Regions from separate parts of the Homo sapiens genome. Here region 2 is linked to region 1. Evidence: promoter capture Hi-C in 16 types of primary human blood cells and fetal thymus (Javierre and others, 2016). All regions are on one chromosome and are shown on one strand. The core of a region is centred on a gene start or on the middle of the fragment in contact, and the rest is flanking DNA. Distances in the headings are between cores, read along the strand shown.

What was found. The method cuts DNA at HindIII sites, captures the fragments that hold promoters and counts their contacts. A CHiCAGO score of 5 or more calls a contact.
Region 2: a contact is called between a fragment that was not itself captured here and the fragment with the promoter of PTCH2 in region 1, in 1 of 17 cell types (erythroblasts). The highest score is 5.5, in erythroblasts.

The regions. Positions count from the first base shown.
Region 1 is chr1:44,842,002-44,849,478 of GRCh38, forward strand. PTCH2 (patched 2) reads right to left here and starts at 1,252. Exons shown (of 22, transcript NM_003738.5): 1 at 860-1,252; 2 at 1-38. The coding sequence starts at 931. RefSeq lists a silencer at 1,198-1,467. The HindIII fragment of the contact is 9,661 bases long and covers 1-3,318 here.
Region 2 is chr1:45,271,755-45,279,105 of GRCh38, forward strand. No RefSeq gene overlaps it. Among named protein-coding and RNA genes, the nearest start is that of LINC01144, 28 kb to the right of the region's middle. The HindIII fragment of the contact is 1,233 bases long and covers 3,275-4,507 here.

The DNA of each region.
Region 1 (7,477 bases), core at 2-2,501:
CGAAGCCAGAGTGGAGCCTTCAGGCTCCCAGCTAGGATCTGGGATGGAAAGAGAAGGGTCAGCCAGGCATCACTGCAACAATGCATGAAATCCTTCCCTTCTCACCCTGTATATCTGCTGCCCAGCCCTCGCTTCTTGATTTCTGGATGTGGGACAGGGAGCACCAACACAGACACAGGCCCAGACTTGGAAGATGTAACACCCACCATCCCCAGCACACACCTGAGGAAGGCATAGGCCTATTTTCCTTTCTTTTCTTTTTGTTTTCTCTCCTTTTTTTTTTTTTTTTTTTTTTTGAGACGCAGTCTCGCTCTGTTGCCCTGGCTGGAGTGCAGTGGTGTGATCTCGGCTGACTGCAACCTCCGCCTCCCAGGTTCAAGAGATTCTCCTGCCTCAGCCTCCCGAGTAGTTGGGACTACAGGCGCCCGCCACCACGCCCTGCTAATTTTTTATTTTTAGTAGAGACAGAGTTTCCCCATGTTGGCCTGGCTGGTCTCGAACTCCTGACCTCAGGTAATCTGCCTGCCTCAGCCTCCCAGTGTTGGGATTACAGGCGTGAGTCACCGCGCCCGGCCGGCATAGGCCCATTTTCTGAGAGCAGGATACATATGTACACACACCTGTCGTCGGGTGGACACAGAGGTGAACCCACAGACATTCATTCTCACTGGCCAGACGATGAGGAGACACCGGCACAGACACACCGACACACACGCACAACTTGCTTGCGGTGCTGGCTCTCACTTGCCTTCAGACATCTAATGACACTCGGCACTTCAAGACATCACAAACCTTGCAGAGGCCCGAGTGACAGACCTGGCTCCGCTCTCTTCCTTCTTCCAGCTCCCCCTCTACTCACCTGGGGTGCTGCGGTTCGAGCTGGGGGTGTGTAACTCGGGGGCAGCTCTCTGAGGGGCGGCGATCGAGTCATGCTGGCGGGGATGGGGGGCGCGGGCGCCCCCAACCCGCGTTATCTGGGCGCTCCCATAGGCTAGCCCGGTCTCCCGGTACCGCTGGGCCCCGCGTAGGGATTCAGTGGGGCCGCCAAGGCGCGGGCGTGGGAGAGACTGTGGGGTGTGGGTGTTAAAGCGGCTGGGAGGGAGGAGTGCAGGGAGCTGCGGGTCCGGGGCGCGGCGCCGGGATTCACCCGCTCCGTGGGCCGTGGGCCGCGGCGGCTGGAGGAGGAATGGGTCCCGCGCGCAGGCGGAATTGCTGGCCCGAGACGCACAGCAGGGCTCGAGGTGGCAACTGCAGTCCCCGGGAGGCGGCTGGAGCTCCAGAAAAGGGAGCTGGCCGGGGCGACGCCCTCCCATTGGCTGAGGGGCCCGCAAATTACCCTAGCCGCGCGGCCCGGCCCGCTGCTAGGTAACGGCGCCGCAGGGGGCGGGGCGGGAGACCACCCAGGCTGGGCCACCCCGCGCCTCCCTCCCGCCCGCGGGGCCCCAGGGAGGAGGAGGGAGGGGGATCCCGGAGAGGCGCAGCGCCGGCCAAGTGTAAGTCCAGAGGCTTACGCTGAGAAAGGGCCTTTGCGGGCTCTGTTAGGGATACACTTTTTTTTTTTTTTTTAAGACGGGGTCTCACTCTGTCACCCAGGCTGGAGTGCAGTGGCTCCATCTCGGCTTGCAGGCTCCGCCTTCCAGGCTCAAGCCATCCTCCCACCTCAGCCTCCCGAGTAGCTGGGATCACAGGCATGCACCACCACGCCCGGCTTTTTGTATTTTTGGTAGAGAACGGGTTTCGCCATGTTGCCCCGGTTGGTCTCAGACTCCCGAGCTCAGGATATCCGCCCGCCTCAGCCTCCCAAAGTGTTGGGATGACAAGCGTGAGCCACCGCGCCCGGCCTAGGGCCACAATTTCTTTTTCTTTTCTTTTTTTTTTTTTTCAGGCTTAATTCACTTTATTTTTCTTGTATAAAAACCCTATGTTGTAGCCACAGCTGGAGCCTGGATCCTCTGCGCGGAGACTCTGGTGTGGGTCTTGACGAGGTGGTCAGTGAATTCCTGATAGGGAGACTTGGTGAATACAGTCTCCTTCCAGAGGTCGGGGGTCAGGTAGCAGTAGGTCTTAGAGATGGCATCAAAGTGGGTAGGGCCACACTTTCTTTCCGACCCAATCAAAGCCCAAGATTTCTTCTGTTCACTCTTCCCGGCTTCCATTCTTGCCCTCTTCAGTCCACTCTCTCCACTGAGACCAGAGTCATTTCTCTAACATGCAAATCTGATAGCTCCAAAGCACAAGGCCCACTTGGAGCACAGGGCCCTGTGTGATCTAGCTAAAGCCTTCTCTCCCATAGTTCCCTCACATCAGTGTTCCCTCGTTCCTGCCTTTGTACATGTTTTGGTCCTTTTGTCTTGGCAGATAATCTTCAAAAACTGAACTTGAATCACCCCCAAAACCCACCTTTTTTTTTTTTTTTTTGAGGCAGGATCTCCCTCTGTTGCCCAGGTTGGAGTGCAGTGGTGCCTTCACAGCACACTGCAGCCTTGAGCTCCCAGTCTCAAGGGATCCTCCCACCTCGACCTCCCAAATGGCTGGGACTACAGGTGTGCACCACCACACCTAGCTAATTTTTGTAATTTTGTATAGACAGGGTTTTGCCATGTTGCCCAGGTTGGTCTCAAACTCCTGGGCTCAGGTCATCTGCCCACCTGGGCCTTCCAAAGTGCTGGAATTATAGGCGTGAGCCACTGTACCCAGCCTACCCCCTCTTTGAAACCTTCCTTGATTCATGTCTCTCTCCTGGCAGATAATTGCTTCTTTGTGCTCTGCATAACAACTCAATTTATATATGTATAATTGCATTTATGACACAAAAACTTATGTACTTGAAAGTCTGCCTTCTTCACCAGACAATAAATAGGTGCTTAATAATTGTTGAGTGAGTCACTAAGAGTTGCAGAATTCAGGGTGTAAAGGATTGGAAATTGGGAAGAATAGAGGCAATAGTCCCTCTATTAAACTTTCAACTATCCTATCTGAGTGTGCTGTTTCTATTGGGTTCCTGATTGATAAACCTCAAGTGGCAGAGTAGGGTAAAATCAATATTCCAATATGTAAAGTTTGAGAAAGAGAAAATGAATCTACAATAAGCTAATTTTTCTAACACAACTACTATTATCTCTGGCAAATTTCTTGGTCAGTTCTTCCAGACTTAAAAAAAATCATTCCATCATAAATATTTCATGTTACTATGTAGTTTTTGTAATCAATCATTTGGAGAATATCCTTAGGACAGATTCCCAGAAGTGGGTTGTTTGGGTCAAAGAGTATGAACATTTTTATGGCTCTTGATACACACTGCTCAACTGATTTTTTGAAAGCTTGTGCAAATTAACATCATCTCTAGAGCCTCAGTCCTGGGGAAGAGGAACATTTAGGTTGAAGGGGTGAACACCTAACAGGTTTGCCATTTCCATTTGTCCATTCACCCAGAAAAATGCCTATGGAGGAACTAATATATGTATGATGCTGTTGGCCAAACAGTAACTGCACATGAAAAGCAGCCTACCTGAATAGCACTTTCTTCTCCCTGTTATAGAGTGTGTCCTGCTGAGCATAAAGTGGCATGGTAGCTCATGCTTGTAATCCCAGCCCTTTGGGAAGCTGAGGCGGGAGGATTGCTTGAGGCCAGGAGTTCAAGCCCTGGCAACATAGTGAGACCCCATCTCTACAAAAAATAAAAAATTAGCTGGGTGTGGTGGCGCACACCTGTAGTCCCAGCTACTTGGGAGGCTGAGGCAGGAGAGTTGATAGAGGCTGCAGCGAGCTGTGATTGTGCCATTGCACTCCAGCCTGGGCGACAAAGTGAGACCCTGCCTCAAAAAACAATAATAATGATAACATAAAAAATTTAAGGTTAAAAAGAACTGTACCCCTAGCAAGTCTCTGAAATAGAAACAGCCTCTAACTTAAGTCTGTATGGGCCCCTAGTTTGCTCTTGGGGCAATAGCTGAAGACAGGGAGTGGCCTGGACTCAGCACTGGTTGTCATCAGGAGTACAACTCCCGATGCTATGCTTTAAGTAAGTCTTAATCTCCTTCCTTTTTACCAGACTCTGCAAGACATAAGGTCCATGGATAAATAGATTTGTAACCACTTGGGCCTTGGGACTCTGCTTTCATCATAGGCCCATCACTGCTAACAATTGTGACAAAGTCCACCATTTCTATGGATGCTTCCAAGGCCAAGTCTGTCTATTAAGGAAACCTCTTGCCTTATAGTTCAAAGACTAGGATGGAAGAAATGGGTCTACAGTTTCCAGCCTTTCCAACCTAGGGCCTAGTGCTGTCTGGCTGCTCCAAGCTACAAAATGACCTGTCTTCTCCCAAACAAAATGGTTTCCTGAGCCCAGCTAAGCTCAGCCAGAGCCAAAGCCATAGACCCCAGGAATAGGAAGGGATAAAGAGGCTTCTCTTCTCTTTCTGCAAGCAGCCTCCTTTATGATAGAACAGCTTGTTTCACTGTCATTTCCACTGGTCCTGGGTACGTGTTTTGGGCCTAAACTAGAGATATTCTCCAAATAACAGGATAAAAGCAATCTAATTAAATCTCATTACTGACTCATGAAACAAACGTCTTGGGATCTCCTTTTTTTAAATTTTTTCAATGAGACAGGGTCTCATTCTGTCACCCAGGCTGCAGTGCAGTGGCATGATCTTGGTGCACTGCAGCCTCTACTGCCCAGGCTCAAGTGATCCTCCCATCTCAGCCTCCCGAGTAGCTGGGACCACAGGCGCGTGACACCACGCCTGGCTAATTTTTTTGTATTTTAGTAGAGACAGAGTTTCACCGTTTTGCCCAGGCTGGTCTTGAACTCTGAGCTCAGGCAATCCACCCGCCTCGGCCTCCCAAAGTGCTGGGATTACAGGCATGAGCCACCGCGCCCAGCCTTGGGATCTCTTATGTGTCCATTCCTTTGCTGGGTTCTGGTGTTGCAGGGTACCTGCTTTTTAGAAGTTCATAGCCTGAGGGGGAGCACAGAGACCACAGGGGAAACCACTGAGTTGGGGGTACTCAGGGATGTTTCCAGAAGTGAAAGGAACTGGATGGGAGAGGTGGGAGGATGACAGAATCTAAAAGGAAAAGGAATGGCTCATGGTCTGGATCTTTCATTTGCTGGTTGTGAGATCTCAGGGAAGTCACATAATCTCTGACATTAACATAAGGATTAAATGAGATAATACATATGGCTGAGGAACAGTGCCAGGAAAAGTGAGGCAGCCCACACTCACATACACACAGTGCTGGGTAAAGTGACCAGTCTGGCTTCAGGGGTGGGTTCATGTGGGAGTTAATTCATGGTGGAGGCAAGGCAGGCTTGCTTTCTCTGGCATTCCTCTAGGCTTCTCACTCGCCAGCTTTTGGCTGCTTCTGTTATCTAGGCCAAGCAGAGTCAATGACCCTGAGATGTGGAGGAGGGAAGTGGGGGTCCTGGGCAGCCCCATCACCACCTGTTATATTTAGGGGCCAAGCCTGGGTATGTATGCTCCTTCCCTGTGGGCAGGTTGAGGCCAATAGCACCTATCAAGTATTTGTTTGTTTGAGATGGAGTTTTGCTCTTGTTGCTCAGGCTGGAGTGCAGTGGTGCCATCTTGGCTAACTATAACCTTCACCTCCTGGGTTCAAGCGATTCTCCTGCCTCAGCCTCCTGAATAGCTGGGATTACAGGCGCCCGCCACCACGTCGGGCTAACTTTTTGTATTTTTAGTAGGGATGGGGTTTCATCATGGTGGCCAGGCTGGTCTTGAACTCCTGACCTCAGGTGATCCACCCACCTTGGCCTCCCAAAGTGCAGGGATTACAGGCGTGAGCCACCGCGCCTGGCGTACCTATCAAGTATTTGGTGCCAGGGCTGCAGCCAGAGATTAGGGAATGGTCCTTCACTTTAAGTGTGGGGGAAGGAGACAGGCTAAGAACAAATGCAGCCTCTCTCTATTTATCCATGGCAGAAAGGCCCCGATGCAATCATCCTGGGTAGTGGCAGATGGCTCAGGCCAAGGACAGGTCATACTGGCTTCCAGTAGAATGTGTTCTCCTGCCCAGTCTCTCTCCCTCTGGGTCAGCTTCATTAGAGCAGAGCTTTCTAGACTTTCTGTCTGGGTGGTCCTTTCCATGGGCCTCCCCCTTCCTCAGACACATTTAACTATTTAGAAAGCTGCATACAAAGGCCTGGTTTATGTACCTCCTTAGGAGTAGGGATAGCTGTGGATAAAGAAAGTGTATCCCCTGCAATTCTCTGGAAATAGAAACAACTTCTCAACTAGGCCATGCAGGCCCTAGATTCCTGTTGGGGCTACAGCTAAACACAATTTCCCTCTCTCCACTGAGTATGGAAGTGGGATGGTAATAGTAAAGTAGTGAAGAACTGGGAAGAAGTTCGACCTTTGGCCTTGGGGAACAGCTTGGAGGGCAATCTTGGCAGTCTTATAGGCTCACAGGAGCTTATGGGCCCTCACTTCAAGTATGGGGAAAGGAGAGAGGCTAAGAACCAATGCAGCAGCTCCCCATTTATCCATGGCAGAAGGCCCCTGATGCAATCATCCTGGGTAGTGGCAGTCTTCTCGGCTCAAGGAACTCTTGCCAGCAGGCAAGGATGAATTGTAACTGGGGGATGGATTCCTGGAGTAGCAGCTGTCAAGTTTTGTCTGACCCGGCAAGCTCCCGGAACCCTGTTCCTCAGCACATCCCCAGGGTCCTCCCTGATTCGGCATTCGAGGTCCCCTTTCTCCTCTTCCTCCACTTCCCTCATTGAGCATCACTGGGAGAGGCAGGGCAGACCCTATTAACTCTTCTGCCTGCCTTGCTTTTCTGATTTCTGTCCATGGAGAGGTGGCCGGCCAGTGGACATTCAGTTGCTCACTATGTTTCAGACATACTCAGCCCCTCTGTAGCTGCTACCAAAAGAAAACAAAAACTGTCCCTGCCTTCTGGCAGACAAACAGGGCAAAGAGAAGAAAAATCAAAGCATCTTGGGCACCCAGCCAGTCCTGGAACTGTCAGACAATAGCAGCAGTGTCCTGAGCTGGGGGCTGCTCCCAGCTGGGACTCAAACTCAACAACACCTTCCTCTGGGAAAGCTTTTACCTTTTGTTTTCTCCAGCTCCTTCCTTTCCTTGATGCAGAGGCCGTTCCATGGACTTGTGCAAAGGGAAGGCACAGGAGAGGTTTTTCCTCTGTCTCACTGTCAGGGGTTCTAAGGGCTCCATGGGGAAGGACAGGAAAGGGTACATAGGAGGGCTCTGAGACAGTTTAATCAATGCCCTTTACTCCTCCACCGCACTTTCCCTCCCAACCCTTTTCTCTGCTCAAGGAGCAATCTTCTGGCTCCTTGGGAGACCCTAAGGGGAAGAAAGCTCTGGGAAAGAGGACAAAACCTGAGAAACAGAAGGGCCTTTAACATTCAAACAGTCGAACTTTCTCATTTTGCAGATGGAAACACTCAAGGTCAGAGAGGAGAGAGTGATTTGACCCAAACCAA
Region 2 (7,351 bases), core at 2,641-5,140, 430 kb after region 1:
TTGCAGTGAGCTGAGATCGTGCCACTGCACTCCAGCCTGGGCAACAAGAGTGAAACTCTGTCTCAAAAAAAAAAATTTAAGGCAACAGTCTTGGGAAGTGGGGCCTGATAAGAGGTGATTAGTTTCTGAGAGCTCTGCTGTCGTCAATGGATTAATGTCATTATCACAGGAGTAGGTTAGTTATCATGATAGTGGGTTGCTATAAAAGCGAGTTTGGCCACTTCTTGTTCTCTTGCTCTCACACGCCCTCTCTTGCCTTTCCACTTTTCACCATGAGATGATGCAGCAAAAAGGCCCTCACCAGAGGCAGACCCTCAATGTTGGACTTCACAGCCTCCAGAACTTTAAGAAATAAATTTCTGTTCTTTTAAAATTACCCAGTCTGGGCTGGGCATGGTATCTCACACCTGTAATCCCAGCACTTTGGGAGGCTGAGGCTGGCAGATTGCTTGAACCCAAGAGTTTAAGACCAGCCTGGGCAACATGGCAAAATTCCATCTCTACAAAAAATACAAAAATCAGCCAGGTATGGTGGCATGCACCTGTGGATCCAGCTACTCGGGAGGCTCAGGTGGGAGGATCACTTGAGCCCAGGAGGTTGAGGCTGCAGTGAGCTGTGATCATGCCACTGTATTCCAGCCTGGGCAACAGAGTGAGACTCTGTCTCAAATAAAATAAAATAAAATAAAATAAATAAAATAAAATAAAATAAAATAAAATAAAATAAAATAAAATAACCCAGTCTGTGGTATTCTGGGATAACAACACAAAATGCATGAAGGTAATGCCAACCAAAAGAAAACAAAAAATTGTTCATGAATATGCTGATTTGTTCATTCAGTATTAATTGCAAAATATTTTATGGTTAGTTATCCATTGCTACATAACAAATTATCCCAGAACTTAGAGACTTAAGACAACAACAATCATTTATTATCTCTCACAGGATATAACTTGGTGTGGTGGTTCTGGCTGAGAATCCCTTGTGAGGTTACAGTTCAGATGTCAACCAGAACTGCAGCTATCTGAAAGCTTGACTGGGGCTGGAGAATCCACTTTCAAGGTAGCTTTCTCCCATCACTAGCAAGTGGTTGCTGGCTGTTTGTGGGAGGCCTCAATTCCTCTCCAGGTATCAACTAGAGAGGAATTGAGGCCTCCCACAGAATCTAGCTAATTCTTAGCGAGAGCCACCATACCAAGTTATATCTTATGAGAAAGAATAAATGATTATTGTTGTTTTAAGCCTCTAAGTTCTGGGGAAATTTGTTATGTAGCAATAGATGACTAATAATAAAATAGTTTTGCAATGAATGCTGAATGAATGAATTAGCATATTTATGAACAATTTTTTGTTTGTTTTCTTTTGGTTTGTCATTGTCTTAATCCATTTTGCGTTGCTATGACAGAATACCACAGGGGCGTTCTGGTTTTCCTCAGTGACCTCACAGCATGGTATGGCTTCCCCTGAATGAGTGATCCAAGAGTGAGAAAAATGCAGGGAGGAAGCTGTATCTTCTTTAACCCAGCCTCAGAAGTCACACACAGTCACTTCCACCACAGTCTATTTGTTAGAAGGAAGTCACTAAGTCTGGCCTTACATTCACGAGGAGGAAAAATAGACATCTGCCTTTGAAAAAAAGTGTTGGGCCAGGCACGGTGGGTGGCTCACGCCTGTAATCTTAGCACTTTAGGAGGCTGAGGCGGATGGATAATGAGGTCAGGAGTTCAAGACCAGCCTGGCCAACATAGTGAAACCTCATCTCTACTAAAAATACAAAAAACAAAAACAAAAACAAAAAACAATTAGCCAGACATGGTGGCAGGCACCTGTAATCCCAGCTACTTGGGAAGCTGAGAAAAGGAGAATTGCCTGAACTCAGGAGGCAGAGGCTACAGTGAGCCGAGATGGCACCATTGCACTCCAACCCTGGGAGACAGTGTAAGACTCTGTCTCAAAAAAAAAAAAAAAGTGTTAAAACATTTGTAGACTTTTTTTTTTTTTTTTTTTTTGAGACAGGGTCTCAGTCTGTTGCCTGGGCTGGAGTGCAGTATGGCACAATACAAAAATTAGCCAGGCATGGTAGCGTGTGTCATGAGGCTCACTGCTGCCTCAACTTCCTGGGCTCAAGTGATTCTCCTAACTCAGCCTTTTGGGTAGCTGGGACTACAAGCATGTACCACCATACCTGGCTAATTTTTGTATTTTTGGTAAAGATGAGGGTCTTGCTATGTTGCCTAAGCTGGTCTTGAACTCCTGGGCTCAAGCAATCCTCCTGCCTTGGCCTCCCAAAGTGCTGGGATTACAAGCGTGGGCCACTGTGCCTGGCCTGTGGACATTTTTTAACTACCACAACTATTTTGTGTAAGTACTGGGATAAATGCTGGGAGACCCGGTATATAAAACAGGCATGGTCCCTCTGAAACTTACAGACAAGAAAGAGGAGAGAGGCTTTAATCAAATGAACACACAAATAAATGTAAAATTACAACTGTGATAAGTTCTTGAAGGAATGATACACAATGTGATGAGAGAGAATGGTGGGGGATCTAGGGTATATCCAAAGAAGTGATGTTTTAGTCAAGATCCGAAGGAAGACTAAGGGCATCCCAGGCAGAGAGCATGTGCCTCCTATGGTAGGGAAGAACGTGGCATGATGGAGGGTCTAAAAGGAGGCTATTGGGTCTGCAGCAGAGTGCAATGAAGACTGGAGAGGGAGGCAGGGACCCCCCACAAACTGGGCCCTGGGTCTGAGTGACCATGTGACCCTGGGACAGATGCTCTGGGCCACCTAACCCCCTCTTTTTATATTGCACCCACATATGAAGCTGCAGGAGTCCAGTACCCTGTTGTTACCAAATCACTACAGGAAGACTCTCAGCCACACCTGGCCTGTGTGTACCTCTTTCACCAAGGAATGCTTAAGATAAATTCCACCCAAAGGTGTCACCTTACCTTTCTAACTCTCCTTGTAACTCTCTACCTGTTCTATACATCCTCTCAACTGACCCAGCCTCCTTCTTTGTTTTGGTCCCCAATCATTCTTCTGTATCTTCTTGAACTTCCACTCTAAGACCTACAAACTCCCTCAGATACCTACATCCCCAAGGTTTTCTTAGAGTGGAACCTGCACTTCTATCTAAACAAAAATCTGGAGATGATTCTGGGCAGTTGGCAGAGTAGGAAGAACCAAGAATATATCTCCCCACCTAGACAACAATTGCACTGTCAGATTCTGTCTGATGTAACAGTTTTGGAAATCCAGAGTCTATTGAAAGCTTGCAACTTCCAGGGGAAGACTTGGTGATAAATTGTAGTTAATTTCAGTAAATTTCAACTGTTACCACAGGAGCAGCTACCCATCTCCCACCAACAAGGAGAATGATATGATGTGTTCCTGGAGCAACCTGCACATAGCTTGTGGGAGCCAGGATGGCTCTGTTCTCCAAATATCAGGGATCTGTGCTCTGATTGCTGATTACTGCTTCTGGTAACAGAAGTGCAGAGAGTCAAAGGGCCATTGTTGTTGCACCTCCCTCCATTGCCACAAGTCCCTCCTCTATAGTTGAAGTGACTTCCTGGGGATTTAAAGGCCCAGGATCCTTTTCTTCTCTCTTTCATTTTTTCCCCTTTTGGGAGCCAGACACTGAAGACTAGGACATTAAAAAACAATTGCATATAAAGTGGTTTTTGTATGTTAAAATATATAAATTAAAATTTAAAAGTATACATGCCTAGGAAAAGGTGCAGTTTCAGAAAAGACCTGAGAAGACCTTAAGTTTTCATCTCAGGCTGATCTTTGGCACAAACACTGCATATAAAATTTAAAAAATAAATAAATAAACAAAAACAATCACAAATGCCAGCAAACCCTGAGGAGAATCTGATTTCCAGAGTTTCCACATTAGATGCAAATGTCCAGTTTTCAACAATAAAATCACAAAACATTTTTTAAAAGCCAGGAAAATATGGCCCAAAGGAAAAAATAAATCAACAGAAACTGTCCCCGAAAAAGACTTAATGGGTGATGTACTAGAGAAAGACTTTATTTTATTTTATTAGAGATAGGGTCTCATTGTCTGTCACCCAGACCACAGTGCAGTGGCCCTTATTTTTTTATTTTTATTTTTATTGCGGAGACAGAGTGTTGCTATGTTGTCCAGGCTGGTCTCAAACTCCTGGCCTCAAGTGATCCTCCTGCCTCAGCTCCCAAGGTGCTAGGATTATAGGCATGATCCACCGCACCCCACCTGTAGTGGATCTTCACAGGTGTGATCACAGTGCGCTACAGCCTTGAACTCCTGGGCTCAAGTGATTCTCCCTCTTCAGCCTCCTGAGTAGCTCGAATTACAAGTATGAGCCACTGTGCTGGCAAGAAAGACTTTAAAACAACAGTTTTAAATATGTTCAAAGAACTAAAGGAAGATGTGGAGAAAGCCAATAAAACAATGTATGAACAAAATAGTAATATAAATAGATTTTTTTTAATCTACAAAAAGTAAATTATGAAGCTTAAAAGTGCAATAACTGAAATGAAAAATTCATTAGAGGAATTCAAAGGCAGATTTAAGCAGGCAGAAGAGTCAGTGAACTGAAGGTGGGACAATGAAAATTAGTGAGTCTGGAAAACAGAAAAAAAAAGAAAAGTTGAAGGAAAGTGAACAAAGCCTAAGGGAACTCTGGGACACCATGAAGCTGACCAGCATACATATTGTGGGATTCTCAGAAGAAGAAGAGAGAGAAAGGGAGAAGGAGAGAATATTTGAATAAACAATGACAAAAAACATCCCAAATTTGATTAAAGACATGAATGTAAACATCCAAGAAGCTCAATGATATCCTAGTAAGATGCATTCAAGGAGACCCACACTGAGACATTATAATCAAAATTTCAACAGCCAAATACAAAATGAGAATCCTGAAACAGCAAGAAACAGCTCATCACAGGGGATCCTCAATAAGGTTATCAGCACATATTTCATTAGAAACTTCAGAGGCCAGAAGGCAGTGGACTGATATATTCAAGGTGCTAAAAGAAAAGAACTGTACACCAATAATTCTATATCTGTCAAAACTGTCCTTCAGCCAAGCATGGTGGCTCATGCCTGTAATCTTAACACTTTGGGAGGCTGAGGTGGGCAGATCACCTGAGGTCAGGAGTTCGAGACCAGCCTAGCCAATACGGTGAAACCCCATCTCTACTAAAAATACAAAAATTAGCTGGCTGTAGTAGCGGGTGCCTATAATCCCAGCTACTTGGGAGGCTGAGACAGGAGAATTGCTTGAACCTGGGGGGCAGAGGTTACAGCAAGCTGAGATCATGCCCCTTCACTCCAGCCTGGGCAAAAGAGCAAAACTACGTCTCAAAACAAACAAACAAACAAACTGTCCTTCAAAAGTGAGGGAGAAATTAAGATATTCCTAGATGAACAAAAGCTGAGGGAGTTAATTACCACTAGACCAGCCTTGCCAGAAATGCTTAAGGGAGTCCTGCAAGGTGAAATGAAGAAACACTAGACAATAACTTGAAGGTATATGAAGAAATAAATACTTCATTAAAAGTAAATATGTAGGCAATTATAACAAGCTAGTATTATTGTAACAATAGTTCATAACTCCACTTTTTGTTTTCTTTATTTTTTAAATTAAAGATGAGGTTTCTCTCTGTTGTCCAGGCTGGAGTACAGTAGTGTGATCACAGCTCACTGCAGTCTTGACCTCCTAGGTTCAAGTCAATCTCCTATCTCAGCCTTTCAAGTAGCTGAGACTACAGGTATGTGCCATCATACCCACCTAATTTTTATTTTTTATTTTTTAGTAGAGATAAGGTATCACTGTGTTGCCCAGGCTGGTCTCAAACTCCTGGACTCAAGCAATTCTCCCACCTTGGCCTCCCAAAGTACTGGGATTACCGGTGTAAGTGACTGCACCTGGCCAAAACTTTTTGTTTCCTACACAATTTAAGAAACTAATACATTAAAAAACAATTAGTCCAGGCCAGGCATGGTGGCTCATGCCTGTAATCCCAGCACTTTGGGAGGCCAAGGTGGGTGGATCACTTGAGGTCAGGAGTTCAAGACCAGCCTGGCCAATATAGTGAAAACCTGTCTCTACTAAAAAAAAATTAGCCAGGCATGGTAGCATGTGCCTGTAGTTCCAGCTACTTGGGAGGCTGAGGCAGGAGAATCACTTGAACTTGGGAGGTGGAGGTTGCAGTGAGCAGAGATCACAGCATTGAACTCCAGCCTAGGCAACCGAGCAAGACTCCGTCTTAAAAAATAATAATAATAATTAGTCTAAAGGCTAGTATTATTGTAGTTTTGGTTTGTAACTCTACATTTTGTTTTCTACATAATTTAACAGATAAATGCATTTAAAAATGATTATGTTTTGGGGCATAAGGATATAAAGATGTAATTTTGTGGAATCAGTAACTGAAAAGAGTGGGGGAAAAGCTGTAAAGGAGCAGAGTTTTTGTGTGTTATTGAGGCTAAGCTAGTGCAAAATCAAATTAGAGTGTTATTACATTAAGATGTTAAATATAATCCCCATGGTAAGAAAAAAGTCATAGAATATACAGAAAAGCAGGCCAGGTATGGTGGCTCATGCTTGTAATCCCAATGACTTGGAAGGCTGAGGCAAGAAGATCACTTGAGCCCAGGAGTTTGAGGTTACAGTGAGCTATGATCATGCCACTGCTCTCCAGCCTGAGTGACAGAGCAAGACTCTGTTTCTAAAACAAAATAAAACAATTAAAAACCACATGATTCAACTATATGCTGTCTACAAGAAACTCACTTTGGATCCAAAGACACACACAAATGGAAAGTGAAAGGATGGAAAAGATATTCCAAGCAAATAGTAACCAAAAGAGACAAAACAAATACCAGACAATATAGACTTTATTATTAATACTATTATTAGTTTGAGACTGTATCTTGCTTTGTCACCCAAGGTTGGAGTACAGTGGCATGATCATAGCTCACTGTAACCTCAAACTCCTAGGTTCAAGTGCTCCTCCCACCTCAGCCTCCCTAATAGCTAGGATAGGTGCATGCCACCATGACTGGCTAACTTTTTAAAAACATTTTGTCTCTAGAAAAACAACAATGAAAATTAGCCAGGCATGGTAGCATGTGCCTATAGTTCCAGCTATTTGGGAGGCTGAAGTGGGAGGATGACTTGAGTCCGGGAAGCAGAGGTTGCAGTGAGCCAAGATGGTGCCACTACATTCCAGAGGGGTGACAGAGTGAGACCCTGTCTCAAAAAGAAAGAAAGAAGAAAAAGAAAGAAAGAAAGAAAGAAAGAAAGAAAGAAAGAAAGAAAGAAAGAAGGAAAGAAAGAAAATCCCTA